Linked DNA regions of Homo sapiens: regions 1, 2, 3 and 5 are each linked to region 4. The links are contacts of gene promoters, found by promoter capture Hi-C in blood cells and fetal thymus (Javierre and others, 2016). All regions are on one chromosome and are shown on one strand. The core of a region is centred on a gene start or on the middle of the fragment in contact, and the rest is flanking DNA. Distances in the headings are between cores, read along the strand shown. Region 1 holds the start of CCNL1 (cyclin L1). Region 2 holds the start of LINC00886 (long intergenic non-protein coding RNA 886). Region 3 overlaps LOC101928236 (a long non-coding RNA gene). Region 4 holds the start of GFM1 (G elongation factor mitochondrial 1). Region 5 has its middle 28 kb from the start of VEPH1.

Region 1 (2,700 bases), core at 52-2,551, 1.5 Mb after region 4:
ATGAGAAATGTAGACATTTATTTTGAGGAGCAGCAAATGATTATTAGGAACAATGAATGGACAGAAATTAGTAAATAATTTTCTTTTGAGTAATCTTGTGAAAAAGTCCCTCCAGGAATGGCTGCATTTCTGAGTCTTTTTGAAATAGGATACGAGATTTCAGCGAGGGGAGGAATGCGATTGATTCTTCTACAAAGAGGCTTCTCTAGTCAGGAAAGGAAATTTCAGAGAGTACCTCCCTGCACTTGGGAAAAGTGGGAGCAACAAGTCAAGGTTGGGGGACCTGCATTATGAGGCAGCTTCTAAAGCCTCTGTCTTTGGGGTATCGCTTTCTGAGCGTCAAGAGTAAAACGTGATGCATTCCTTTCCTTCCAACCTAGATTCTAGTAGTTTAGATCAGTATCATTGTTTTTACTTCAAGGTTCAGGAAACGCTGGAAATTGCTAGCTAATATCACAGGAAAAAAAACAAAAAACACGAGGTTGACCTCACCCTACCCGCGGTAGGTAACCATGTATGAATAGAGACTCCCAGGCATAATCAAATTACCTCTGTCAAGTCCTCGCCCTAAGACTATTTTTGGAAACTAGGGATTTTCCAGATTACTGAAAGCCGTGGCGGTGTCAAAGGCCGGGCAGGAGTTTCGCAAGCGGAGCTATGAAAGCAGCCACTCTCGCGGTCATTCCTATGCCTCCGCCCTACTTCCCCATACTGGCAAAAACACGCTCCCCGGGGAGCTTTCATTTGGGAACCGATAGGGTCCACAGCCCTGTGTTCTTCAAATACTGTAAAGCAGCCCTCTCCAGATTCCTTGAGGGTCACTTTATATTACACATTCGTCCACACAGGACAACAAAGTCACCACTTCCACCCGCCAAAGCGCGCTCAGGTCGGCCGCCACTTCCCTTGGTACACGCGGAACGCAAGCCGCGCCGAGGCTAAAGGAAGAGGCCGGAATGCAGGGCGAAGGGGCGCAGAGATGCTAGCCAATGCTGCCACCTCTATTTTGGGTATAAGGGATCTTGTAAAGCTCCGTTATTCGTGTGGCTATCACAAACAAGGTGGTTTCGACCGGCCTTGGCTAGAGAAGGCCTCCTCAGCCTCTGAGGATCCCAAGGTCTGTCGCAGCACCCAACACTCCCCTCGCAGGCCCAGATGCCGAGGGCGGAGGCGCGGCCTGGAGGGACTAGTTGGCGCGCGGCTGCCCGGCGTGGTGACGTCAGGGCGGAAGCGCACGCGGCGTGAAGCGGCCCAGAACCCGGCGGTCACGGGAATATCCGTCGCGCCGAGAACGCTGGTTAGTCTTGTTTCGGGTTCCGGCTGCGTTGGGCTTGCGTGCGGCTCGCTAAGACTATGGCGTCCGGGCCTCATTCGACAGCTACTGCTGCCGCAGCCGCCTCATCGGCCGCCCCAAGCGCGGGCGGCTCCAGCTCCGGGACGACGACCACGACGACGACCACGACGGGAGGGATCCTGATCGGCGATCGCCTGTACTCGGAAGTTTCACTTACCATCGACCACTCTCTGATTCCGGAGGAGAGGCTCTCGCCCACCCCATCCATGCAGGATGGGCTCGACCTGCCCAGTGAGACGGACTTACGCATCCTGGGCTGCGAGCTCATCCAGGCCGCCGGCATTCTCCTCCGGCTGCCGCAGGTCAGTGCTCCGGCCCCGGGCCGGCCGGGCGCTCCTCTCCTCTCCTCCGTCCCCTACGCCGCATCTCAGTATCACCGTGCCCCGGGAGGGTGGGGACGGTTCCTTCAGGCTTTCCCGTTCGGGGCCCAGCCGCGGCCGGGGCGTGCCGGGGCGGGGGGCTGCGGAGGCGGAGGGAGGACTTGGCAGCGGGCTGTTCGCAGCGGCGGCGGCGGCGGGAGGGGAAAGGGAAGCGATCGGCGGCACAAAATGGCGGCGGCGCCTGGAGCGGGCCCGCCTGACCCCTGCGCTTCCGTTCTCCTCTCTTGTCTGCAGGTGGCGATGGCAACGGGGCAGGTGTTGTTTCATCGTTTTTTCTACTCCAAATCTTTCGTCAAACACAGTTTCGAGGTAAGCACAGCGGAGGCGGGTAAAAGGGATTTCTTCATCCGGAAATGGGCAGAGTAGGGGTAGTGTCAGCAGCCAGCTTTTCCAGAAAGGGAGTGGTTTAGTTTAGGCCTTTGTACCTACTTCTCACTCGCCAGGAAGTGGAAACCTTTAGAATGTGGTTCAAAATCGATCACGAGCCTAAGTGCCCTCTTAACGAAAAGTACAGTTTTCAACCAAATGCAGAACTCCTGTAAGATTGAGTTTGACTCTGGAACCAAAATTAAGATGAGTTAAACAACAAAAAGTATAGTACTAGCATAGCTGGTAGACTTACGGCATAGAGATGTCTTCTCTAATTTTACTAAAGGTTGTCCCAATTGTGTTCTAAATTTTATTCTTCAAAGTGAGTTTAATCTAACAATGGCTTTTGTGGCTCATGGGTTCTTTCAGATTGTTGCTATGGCTTGTATTAATCTTGCATCAAAAATCGAAGAAGCACCTAGAAGAATAAGAGATGTGATTAATGTATTCCACCACCTCCGCCAGTTAAGAGGAAAAAGGTAAGATTGGCATTATTGAACATAGTATCTCTTGCTACTGCTGTACCGTGCACCAGTCATCAAATCAAAACATCTTTCCTTTCAAGTGAATACGGATGCAAAAGAAAACGGACTTTAA
Region 2 (2,700 bases), core at 71-2,570, 1.8 Mb after region 4:
ACCGTAATATTCTAAACAGCATTCTAAATGTATATTTTATTATTTCTATAAATACATATCTCTTCTCATAGAATCAGAAGAGGTAAACAATCAAGTTTCAGGAAAGCAGGAGCCAGTATTGCTTTGAGAACCTCAGATATGCAATGTGGAATTTGCAAAAGCCATAAAAAGGCTCAGCCCTTAGAATCTACCACTTAATGAAAGTTGGTTCCATTTTCTTTTATTGTTGGCAGTCTCTGCACATGGCAGAGCAGTGGTGGCTGACGGTCCAATTTTGTCACCAAAAGGAACTGGGGAGAAGGCATCTATGCCCACCCTCCTGTTAGAAAATTGCCAGGAAATGACTTTCTTTGGCACAACTTGGATGATATGCAATCTCTTTAACCAAATTACTAAGGCCAGGAGGAGTCAAGTGCTGTTTGTCATTGGCTTACCTTGAGTCAGGTATATGCCTCTCGACCAAGTGTGGGGACCAAGTAGGCAAGGCCACACACAATGACACCTCCCTTTCTAACTACATTCTAGAAGAGTAAAGGCAGAAGCACAATCCAGGCAGGAAGGGTAGGCAGTTCTGTCCCAGAAGAAATTAAGCGTGCTGGGCAGACCAGGAAAAAAAAAAAAAATCCCACGTGAGAATCAGTCAGCTGGTAGAACATTTTAAAATTAAACAGTGAATCTTGCTGCCTTTTCCCACATATGGTAAGCTGAGATGAGAATATGTATTTTTGAGAAAGCTTCCTAGGAGTTTATTGTGTCTATTCTAACCCTAGAGAATCCCCCCTTTCCTATAATGTTACATGTATCACAAAAACAAATGTGTGTGTAACTAGGCACTATAGGCCTAAGAGTCATAATAGGGAAATAAGAGAGCATAGATTCACCAAATCAAAGTTTAAGTACATAGAAAATAAACTAATGTGGAATTTCCCAAGCTTTCAGTTGACTGGGGTGCTCTTGTGTTAAAAACTATCGTGGTAACATTTTTTGTTTTGTCCTCTAAACTTGATTTATCTGCAAATCTACAAACATTTTAATTATGTAAATAGATATCTGTGCGGGCAAAACACTTTTTGCTCACATGATCTTGAGAAGGAACTTAGATTCTGGTGTCTTAAAACGTGGCACCTTTTTTATGTCCTTGGGGCTTTTGAGTCACCATATAAATGAGGTCTCTCATGTTCGTATGCCAGGGAGATCAACCACCTCTGATTTTAAAATAAAACACTGCAAAGAAAGCTTCCGGGAGGAATGAGAGCATGCCCCAAATCACGACTCTGTAATTAGTCTTTGTGCAGAGCGGACAGAAATTTCGTCCCAAAGCCACCGTCCTTGCTCTGGTTCCTTTCTCTGTAAGCATGTCACACGAACCACACTCCTGCGCCATGCATCGCAATTTAAAGCTTTCCTTGTAAAGTTTCCCCAGCTTGATTGCTTATGGAAAGAGCAGCTCCGGTTCCCAATTCGTTTAATACATCCTGTCCGAGCGCGTTTTATTACCGAATGTTACCCACGTTGTGATAACAAGGGGACGCTGTGTCCTCCCCCGGTGAACTCACTCCCTGTCCCAGAAATATAGCGTGACTGCCCTCCCCGGCGGTGTTTTGAAAGTAGAAGCCGGGCGCCGCCCTCCAGCACCTGCACCTCCCGCCCGGCGACGGCCGCCTGAAGCACGAAGTGCGTGCGACCGCAGCCCGGCAGGTCACGCAACCCCAGGCCGCCGCGCCGCCTGCGTGCCTGCAGCCCGCCGGCCCCGCCCCCGCTGCCTGCTTCCGCCGCTTTAGTGCACGCTCGGGCTTCCTGGTGCGCCCGGAGCCTGCCTCGCGTGCCGACCCCGCCGCGTAATCCGGCGAGGCATCCCAGATTCCGCCCGGCTCCAGACGCCCTCCACCGACTTTAGTTCGAGCAGGTGACGCCCTCATTTTAACGCCGAAAAGTGTCAGTTCCCGATATACAACAAACACCTCAGGCTGCGAAACGTGGGATAAGGGGACAGCGGGCTGAGAGTCGACCTCGCCCCTGGGCCCCTCTCGGCCTCCTTGGCGCCTGCTCCCTGCCCGCTCCGTCGGGCGGCCCTGTGCGGGCGGAGAGAGCAGCAAGGCGGCCTCCCGCACTGCCTGGATTTCGAGGGCGGGGGCGGGCGCGGGGGCAGCCCGGCCAGGGCTAGGAGACCCGGGAAGGGGTCGCCAGCGAGTGGCCTTCGCGGAGCTGCCTCACCCCGCCTGCCTGGAGCCGGGAGCCCGGCGTGCACTGACGCCTGGGGCACGCTGGGGGCGACTTTCGTGGCCGGGCGGCTGACCCCGGCGACCCGGCGCAGTGTCCAGAAGTGCGCTGGGGGGTAATGAAGGGCAGCGCTCGCTGAGGCTGAAAGGAGCGAGGGCCGGCGCTGTGTAGGTTAGATTCTTTGTTGACGTCTGGGAGCCGTCTTTTGAAGAATGAGAACGGGGCCGTTATTGCAAGTAGGATGGGCTTCATCGTGGGCCTCGAAGGATCAGGGGTGGGCGCGCCGGCTGCCAGGGCCCCTCTCACGCCACGCCGCGTGCAGGCGAGGGGAAGCGCGTGTCGTGACGACCTGCGATGAGATCAGTTTGAGTAACCACAGCCGTCGGGGCTGAGAAATGCAGCCAGTCACGCAGCGCAGCGCAGCTCAGCGCTGGCTCTGGCCGGGTGGCCGCAGCCGCTCCGCGCTTCGCAGAGGGAGGT
Region 3 (2,700 bases), core at 129-2,628, 1.5 Mb after region 4:
AGATTAATTATCCAAAATATTTCAATCATCTACAGAATAGATGTTTGAAAGTTCACAATACTCTGGAATAAAATATTTTCTACATAATGTAAAGCAAAGCATTATTTGCAAACATGTAAATACATGTTGTCCCATGAGAGGTTTTCCATTATAACTTCAGAGTAATTAAACATACAAAGACCAATCCCTTGCTAATCTTTCTGTTCAAATTGCTTAATTATGAGAGCTTCTGTGTTCATTGTAAGACAGAAAGATAAGGTTAATAAATCTTGTCCTTTGAACTCTCATTTCAAATTTTATCCCTGAGTGCAGATGTTGTTAAAATGTTTTCTCAAGCTTCTCAGTAACAGAGTTGGTTAGTACTTTTCTGGTGAGGATATTATTTCATGTCTGTATGTTCTAAAGTTCTAGCAGTGTAACATTATTGCTGATTTTAAAGACTGATACACCCCGTCTGGGAAGTGAGGAGCGCTTCTACCCGGCTGCCCCGTCTGGGAAATGAGGAGCGCTTCTGCCCGGCTGCCCCGTCTCGTAAGTGAGGAGCGCCTCTGCCCGGCCGCCCATCATCTGGGATGTGAGGAATGCCTCTGCCCGGCCTCCCCATCTGGGAGGTGAGGAGCACCTCTGCCTGGCCGCCCATCATCTGGGATGTGAGGAGCACCTCTGCCTGGCTGCCCTTCGTCTGGGAGGTGAGGAGCGCCTCTGCCCGGCCGCCCCGTCTAGGAAGCGAGCGCCTCTGCCCGGCCGCCCTTTGGGAGGTGAGGAGCGTCTCTGCCCAGCCACCCCATCTAGGAAGCGAGCGCCTCTGCCCGGCCACCCTTCGTCTGGGAGGTGAGGAGCGTCTCTGCCCAGCCACCCCATCTGGGAGCTGAGGAGCACCTCTGCCCGGCCGCCCATCATCTGGGAAGTGAGGAGCGCCTCTGCCCAGCCGCCCATCGTCTGGGAGGTAAGGAGAGCCTCTGCCCAGCCGCCCCGTCTAGGAAGCGAGCGCCTCTGCCCGGCCGCCCTTTGTCTGGGAGGTGAGGAGCGTCTCTGCCCAGCCACCCCATCTAGGAAGCGAGTGCCTCTGCCCGGCCACCCTTCGTCTGGGAGGTGAGGAGCGTCTCTGCCCAGCCACCCCATCTGGGAGCTGAGGAGCACCTCTGCCCGGCTGCCCATCATCTGGGAAGTGAGGAGCGCCTCTGCCCGGCCGCCCATCGTCTGGGATGTGAGGAGCACCTCTGCCTGGCCGCCCATCATCTGGGAAGTGAGGAGCGCCTCTGCCCGGCCGCCGATCATCTGGGATGTGAGGAGCGCCTCTGCCTGGCCGCCCCGTCTGGGAGGTGAGGAGCGCCTCTGCCCGGCCACCCATCATCTGGGATGTGAGGAGCGCCTCTGCCCAGCCGCCCTTCTTCTGGGAGGTGAGGAGCGCCTCTGCCCAGCCGCCCCATCTAGGAAGCGAGCACCTCTGCCCAGCCGCCCCATCTGTGAGGTGAGGAGCGCCTCTGCCCTGCTGCCCCGTCTGGGAGGTGAGGAGCGCCTCTGCCCGGCCGCCCATCATCTGGGAAGTGAGGAGCACCTCTGCCCGGCCACCCCGTCTGGGAAGTGAGGAGCGCCTCTGCCCGGCCGCCCCGTCTGGGAAGTGAGGAGTGTCTCTGCCCAGCCGCCCCGTATGGGATGTGAGGAGCGCCTCTGTCCGGCCGCCCCGTCTGGGAAGTGAGGAGCACCTTTGCCCAGCCACCCCGTCTGTGAGGTGTACCCAACAGCTCTGAAGAGACAGCGACCATCAAGAAAGGGCCATGATGACGATGGCGGTTTTGTCGAAAAGAAAAGGAGGAAATGTAGGGAAAAGAAGGAGAGATGAGATTTTTACTGTGTCTGTGTAGAAAGAAGTAGACATAGGTGACTCCATTTTGTTCAGTACTAAGAAAAATTCTTCTGCCTTGGGACACTGTTAATCTATAACCTTACCCCCAACCCTGTGCTCTCTGAAACATGTGCTGTGTCAACTCAGGGTTAAATGGATTAAGGGCGGTGCAAGATGTGCTTTGTTAAACAGATGCTTGAAGGCAGCATGCTCGTTAAGAGTCATCACCACTCCCTAATCTCAAGTACCCAGGGACACAAACACTGCGGAAGGCCACAAGGACCTCTGCCTAGGAAAACCAGAGACCTTTGTTCACGTGTTTATCTGCTGACCTTCTCTCCACTATTATCCTATGACCCTGCCACAACCCCCTCTCTGAGAAACACCCAAGAATGATCAATAAATACAAAAAAAAAAAGACTGATACAATCATTCGTTTGTATTTTAAAACTACAAAAATTAAATTAACCCCCAACAATGCTCCTGGTTCCCCCTCCCCATTAAAATGCTGTATATAGTAAGGATAATAAAGTCCTATACATATATAAAACTGTCCTTGGAATAAACAAGCTTCATGTTTCTACCATCCTGGGATCCAGGTTTCCAACTACTTTATGGTTCACTTATAAACTTAAAGAACCACCACCTTGGAAGGTAGAATTTTTTGAAAAAGAGAACAAGATCGAATAACGGTGCTTCTGTGATTTGTAGAGGTCAGGGAAGAAATATAGCATTATACAGATATGGGAATAATTTGTCCTAACATAAATGTTTAGATTGAAGATCACAGAGAGTATCATCTTTTGTCTCCACTATCCAACTACAAAATGTCACTAAAGTGAACAATTATTTTT
Region 4 (2,700 bases), core at 12-2,511:
ATATACCTCATGCATCTTTGCAATTCTGCCAGTGTAGTAAAGGACTCGTTCTGTTAATGTAGTTTTCCCAGAATCAATGTGAGCTGAGATTCCAATATTTCGTATTTTTTCATTAGGAATCACCCCTGATGAAGACCATCGGCAGGCCTTCCAATTAACCTGAAAAAAATACGAGAGCTCAATTCTATGCACCTTTTATAAGAGAGAACAACAGACAATTAAAAGGAGTATGGTGGACATTATTCCTCCAAGAAATCTCACTGGATATGAGATAGCTTGAGAAAGGCACCAGGGGAAACCTTTAAGCCTGGAACTCTTGTAATCAGAGGACAGACTTCAAAACAAGACAGTAAAGACGTATTCTTTTAAAATTAATTAATGAATAAGTTAAATTTAATTAAAATGGGAGACACTTTTTACTGCAGATTTGAAAATACACACTGGGGCAGATAAAATCACAAAGACAGCTCCAAAAAATACTTTAATAGAAAATACAAATTTTAGCTTAAATTTAACTTAATTTTTTTCCCTTTCTCCTTTATTGTAGTTCACAGATGACAAATATGTTTGAGAACTTATATGCTCTATGCAGTGATGCTAGTAGCTCCAAGACAGCCCCCAAAGATTTCCAATTCCCTCCAAACAAAAACAATTCATGAAGCTTGTTTTAACTTTACTCTGGTGGCAGGGGATGGGGATCCCTATTAGATGGAATGAAGATACAATATAAACCTTTCCCTATAGGACTGCACATCCAAAATGCACAATTATTCACGGGAAAAGAGAGGCAAAAAAAAAAAAAAAAAACCTTAGAAAAGGTGGATAAAATATCAAAGTATCTGAGTGACAGACACTTTTAGTTGATTAAACCCTAGGGATACCAGAGAGCGAAACAAACGAGCTAACGAGCTAATGTGCAGGCACCGAGGTGCTTTTCAGCACTGACGAGCGACTGCCAGTATTCGGAGCTGTCAGTCATGAGGACCCAGGGGGTGTCACGGCCTTCCATTGCCCAGAAGGGATCACAAGGTTCCGGGAATGGTCCCGATTTAGCCTCTCTATGCTCCGGTACCTGCTTCCTCTGCCAGCCTAGGGAGGCGGGGGCCCTTCCGCGCCCCAGAGCCGCGACGGCTGCAGCTCCCAGGAGTCTCATGGCAAGCGCAGAGCACGCGTCAAAGTCCCGTGGCGCCGGGTGGGTTCAGCTGCCGGTAACGCACCGGGAAGCGGTCAAAGTCACGCCGGCAGCCAATGTTGTAAGAGCACTTCCGGGGCAAAGGACGCGAGGAAAAAGAGAGTGAGGAAAAGAAAGAAGAGCAACTGGATTGGAGGCGGAGCAGTGCCTACGCTGCTCGCGCGCCGTCTGCCGACTTGGAAGAGAAAGTGCAATCGCTTTGCGGAGCTAAAGAAGTGTTTGCTCCCAGTAAGACGGCATAGGTATATGGGTGAGGGAAGGGAGTCCTTTTGTCTTCGTCTTCTTTTTTAAATATTACCTCTGTATGAAGATACAGAATTTAAACATGGTTGTTAGGCCTATAAAGCAATGTGGAGAAATGTATATAACAATTTAAGTAGAAAAGAGCAAAATTGTCTATTACAAATATTAATAGGTATATATATGACATGGCCTGAAAAAGAACGTGGACAAATTATAGTGAATGAACTATCAATTACAATTACAAATACTTTTCCTCATGTCAAAATGTTATTTGTTATTGTTCGATGTCAGACATTTCATGTCCTGTCCATGTGGAAGACTGCATCCTTGACCATTCTGCTTGGATGTGTTAAGAGGCATGTTGAACCTAACAGGTCCAAAACTGAGCTTCGGATCTTCTTCCCCAAACCTTCCACAGTCTTATCCATCTCATAAATGTAAACTTTAGTGATTCTAGCCAAAAATATTAGTCGCTTTGACACCATGCTGTGACATCTCCGGTCTAATCAGTCAGCATATCCTGTAAGCTCTACTTTCAAAAAGACATCCAGGGCCGGACGCGGTGGCTCACACCTGTAGTCCCAGCACTTTGGAAGGCCGAGGCGGGCAGATCACGAGGTCATGAGATGGAGACCATCCTGGCTAACACAGTGAAACCCCGTCTCTACTAAAAATACAAAAAAAAATTAGCCGGGCGCGGTGGCGGGCGCCTGTAGTCCCAGCTACTCGGGAGGCTGAGGCAGGAGAATGGTGTGAACCCAGGAGGCGGAGCTTGCAGTGAGCCGAGATCACGCCACTGCACTCCACCCTGGGTGACAGAGCGAGTCTCAAAAAAAAAAAAAAAAAAAGAAAATCCAGAACTTACTTCTCCCCACCTCTCAGTACTGCCGTTTCTGGAGGGAACTATTGTAATAGCCTTGTAACCGATCTCACTGCTTCTATCCTTGCTGTTGTCAGTGGGCCGGTTCAGGTGCTTGACTTCACCACACAAAAGAATTTGAAAGCAAGTACAAAGTAAGAGTAGGCAAAAAAGTTTATTGTAAACCAAAAGTACACTCTGAGAGGCAGAGTGGGCTGCTCAGAAGAGAGACAGACAGCCTTTAGTATCTCTAGGGAATTCCCTTTATGGGTGAGGCAGGAGAACAGGGTCTAGAGACAGGGAACCGAAGGCCCTGCTGACTTCCTAGAGCTGAACCAAAAGGAAAACCCCACCTCTCCATGCCCAAGTAACAAAAGGATCGGAGGCTACTCCCAATGCACTGCAT
Region 5 (2,765 bases), core at 68-2,567, 1.1 Mb after region 4:
CTCAAGCACTAAGATTTACATTCAAATGCCAGCCATTTTCTCAGTCTTTATGAATAATCCAGACTTTGTGTTTTGGACCCTTAGACATAGTAACAACGCAAACGGAATCAAAATCATCATTCATATTATTAACAAACATTTCTGAGTAATGTTTTGAGTAAATGCCTAATAAAGTTTAAGAAATAAAAGTAACTCATGTTTATTAAAGAGGAATTACTAGGTTTCCATTCATAAGCTTCAATATCCTGCTTAATGGATTCCATACCTAACATAGAAATCCAGTGAATGAATTATGGTCAAACAGTCTACAAAAATTATATGGTTTCCTTTTTTACTGTTGTTTCCCCTACGTGAAATAACAATGAGGAATGTAGCTTGAATAAAGGCATTTCTTGTAACAGAATGAAAGCATTAGGGTGACGCTGGTTGTATTTTAGCTGACTGGAGAGCCTCAAAGCTTTATGGTCAGAATGTGCCCCCTTGTGGAAGATGTGAGTAAAAAACAGTAGAGAGGAAACAGTATTGTGGCCGAGATCTTGGGAAAGAATTGAAGGTGGGAGAGGACTAAAGAGGCAGGAAGCAATGAATTAAAAGCCTGTTGACTACACTTCGTAAAGAACCATATAAGGAAGAAGGCATTGTATCAAATAAGGAAATGAGTGTAGCCAGGTGGAAAGGAGAACCTGGGTTAGGTAAGCTCGCAGTCTTAGGTTCTAGAAAACTTCAATCATTAATAATGAGTATAAATGAAATAGCCACTGAATTAGGCATTTCAGAGTGCTGTCTCTGAGCTCAGCCTGGCTGGGTGCAAATCATGGCTCTGTTAGTAGCTGTGTGACTTTAGGGCGTCATTTTACTGTTCTCTAAGCTTCAGTCATCCCATGTGAAAAACAGAATAGTAACAGTGCCTTTTTAGATGCTGGCTGTTGTTGTAGGTAAAGGTTGCTGTGAGGAGTAAATGAGGTAAAGTATAGAAAGTGTTTTCAGTGTGGTGTCTGCGGTACTGAAATAGCTATCACTACTACCTGCCAGTGTGTGCATTTTAAAACAGTGAAAGACATTTCCTTTTCTATTTTTAAAAATGGCTTCCAGATACAGACAATCACCGACTACAGAGGAAAGCTCTGTGGCTCTGTGAAAGTTGTGAGGCTGAAGATTTTTAAGCCTTTCTATAAGGCTGCTCCAGAGATGGAAAACAAGTTCCCCCTCGACTCATATTCTATGTGTGGGGGGGCAATCCATCCAGACACATTTGGATCAGTGTGACTAATTTGTTTTTACACAGTTGAGGTGAGGTCAGTGAGGGGCTGGGTACTTGGCGGAGCAAGGCTGTTTGGGTGGGTGGTGTGGGGCAGGGGTCAACTTGCTGCGATAGGCAAAGGTAGAAATGGGAAAGGAAATCAGGGCCACAGAAAGAGCCCAGGTTTACTGAAACCCAGAAGAGCTCTACTCCCAAGAGGGCACAGGAGAACTTTATTGGGCCAGTAAACATTTCCACTCAAGCAGCTACATGGTGTCAATGGGCAAACGAAAAAATAACAGGATAATTATAGAAAGTTTTCTGAAATTTGCTTTTATTTTTTTAAAAAAGTGTTTGCCTTTTAATTTCCTCAAATGTGCTACCAAAAATTCAGGTATTTTAAACGTCAGGAAGCACTGGTATGACTAAGTGGAAGAGCGGCTATCAGGGAAGGAGGTCAGCAGTGTGCCTTGGGTGTGAGGGCCGCACACCCAGCCTGAAGGGCTCTCCTTTAGAAGGAAGCTTCAAGAAGATGTGCTGACAGATGGTTCTGCCCCATTTCTCATTCAATGGAGAGCTCCACAAGCTGGGTTTGAAATGCTACTTTTGTGAAATAGTTATCAGATAGGGAATTCCATTTCAACTAACTAACAGTTGGAAGTTACCTCCCTTCTCTTTAGTCACTGTAATGAGTAAGTTTCTTTTGTTTTCTTATATCACAAAATGACAGCCCAATAAGCTCTGGAAATTAATTCATTCTAGTGAATGTTATGAAATGAAACAAAACCAGTTTAATGACTGTAATAACTGAGGTTGGGCATCCGTGACATTCCCTGTAGCCACCCTGTGCTTCTTGCCTCCCTTGGCAGGCTCCTCGGCCTGGGTCGTTCATTTATGCTCCCCACAGTACTCTATCCAGCACTCTACCACCCTCTCCTCAGAAGCTCTCTGCAACTCCCACCTAGCCAGTTCACACCTCTGGGTCACTCACATTTTCTGTTTTGTCTTTTCTGGATCTGGGCTGAGAAGTGAGACCTTTGCTTGCAGGGAGAAATCACCAGATGGTGCTGTCAGAGTCCACCATGTATTTATGCTCTCAAACTCTGATTTGAGACCTCAAGACTTGATTCAAATCTTGTTTCATTTTTTTTCTTTTTATCTCATCACATTCTCCATGGTGTCTGACTCAGACCTATTCCTCCACCCCTAGGTTCTCAGCCGGATGCTACCACTTCCCACTCCTAGGAAATCATATTCCATCCTGTATTTTAGAAGATCTAGGGTAGTTTTCTTGGCTCTCGTTTGTCCACAACAGACTGATTTTTGTTGTTACTCTAAGACATTTTTTTGCATGCCACAGTGGGTTAGGCCTTCCTTTCTGCCAAGGCTGACCCAGCACTCTTCTCTGGATCCTGTTCCTTGGAGCCTTCTTGAGTGACCATCTCCATCAACTATCCCCCTTCTCTCTCCTTGTGAGTTGCTTCCTTTACGCTTCCTTCTCCTCTATTCAGTTCCAGTTTTACTT

Evidence for each region. The method cuts DNA at HindIII sites, captures the fragments that hold promoters and counts their contacts. A CHiCAGO score of 5 or more calls a contact.
Region 1: the fragment with the promoter of CCNL1 here is called in contact with the fragment with the promoter of GFM1 in region 4 in 4 of 17 cell types (total CD8 T cells, activated CD4 T cells, total B cells and 1 more); the score reaches 8.3 in total CD8 T cells.
Region 2: a fragment that was not itself captured here is called in contact with the fragment with the promoter of GFM1 in region 4 in 1 of 17 cell types (total CD8 T cells); the score reaches 5.0 in total CD8 T cells.
Region 3: a contact is called between a fragment that was not itself captured here and the fragment with the promoter of GFM1 in region 4, in 5 of 17 cell types (activated CD4 T cells, total CD8 T cells, naive CD4 T cells and 2 more). The highest score is 7.8, in activated CD4 T cells.
Region 5: a contact is called between a fragment that was not itself captured here and the fragment with the promoter of GFM1 in region 4, in 1 of 17 cell types (endothelial precursors). The highest score is 5.1, in endothelial precursors.

Annotation. Positions count from the first base shown.
Region 1 is chr3:157,158,748-157,161,447 of GRCh38, reverse strand. CCNL1 (cyclin L1) reads left to right here and starts at 1,301. Exons shown (of 11, transcript NM_020307.4): 1 at 1,301-1,656; 2 at 1,969-2,043; 3 at 2,473-2,582. The coding sequence starts at 1,354. RefSeq lists enhancers at 440-499, 520-569, 657-1,386, 2,020-2,089 and a silencer at 1,670-1,879. The HindIII fragment of the contact is 11,903 bases long and covers 1-2,700 here.
Region 2 is chr3:156,816,093-156,818,792 of GRCh38, reverse strand. LINC00886 (long intergenic non-protein coding RNA 886) reads left to right here and starts at 1,731. Exons shown (of 3, transcript NR_038387.1): 1 at 1,731-1,906. RefSeq lists an enhancer at 634-1,833 and silencers at 1,718-1,927, 1,948-2,277. The HindIII fragment of the contact is 164 bases long and covers 1,239-1,402 here.
Region 3 is chr3:157,177,505-157,180,204 of GRCh38, reverse strand. All of the region lies in intron 2 of LOC101928236 (a long non-coding RNA gene), which reads right to left. Among named protein-coding and RNA genes, the nearest start is that of CCNL1, 19 kb to the right of the region's middle. RefSeq lists an enhancer at 1,821-2,322. The HindIII fragment of the contact is 2,080 bases long and covers 339-2,418 here.
Region 4 is chr3:158,643,088-158,645,787 of GRCh38, reverse strand. GFM1 (G elongation factor mitochondrial 1) reads right to left here and starts at 1,261. Exons shown (of 18, transcript NM_024996.7): 1 at 1,073-1,261; 2 at 7-159. The coding sequence starts at 1,153. The HindIII fragment of the contact is 2,960 bases long and covers 664-2,700 here.
Region 5 is chr3:157,530,495-157,533,259 of GRCh38, reverse strand. No RefSeq gene overlaps it. Among named protein-coding and RNA genes, the nearest start is that of VEPH1, 28 kb to the right of the region's middle. The HindIII fragment of the contact is 894 bases long and covers 871-1,764 here.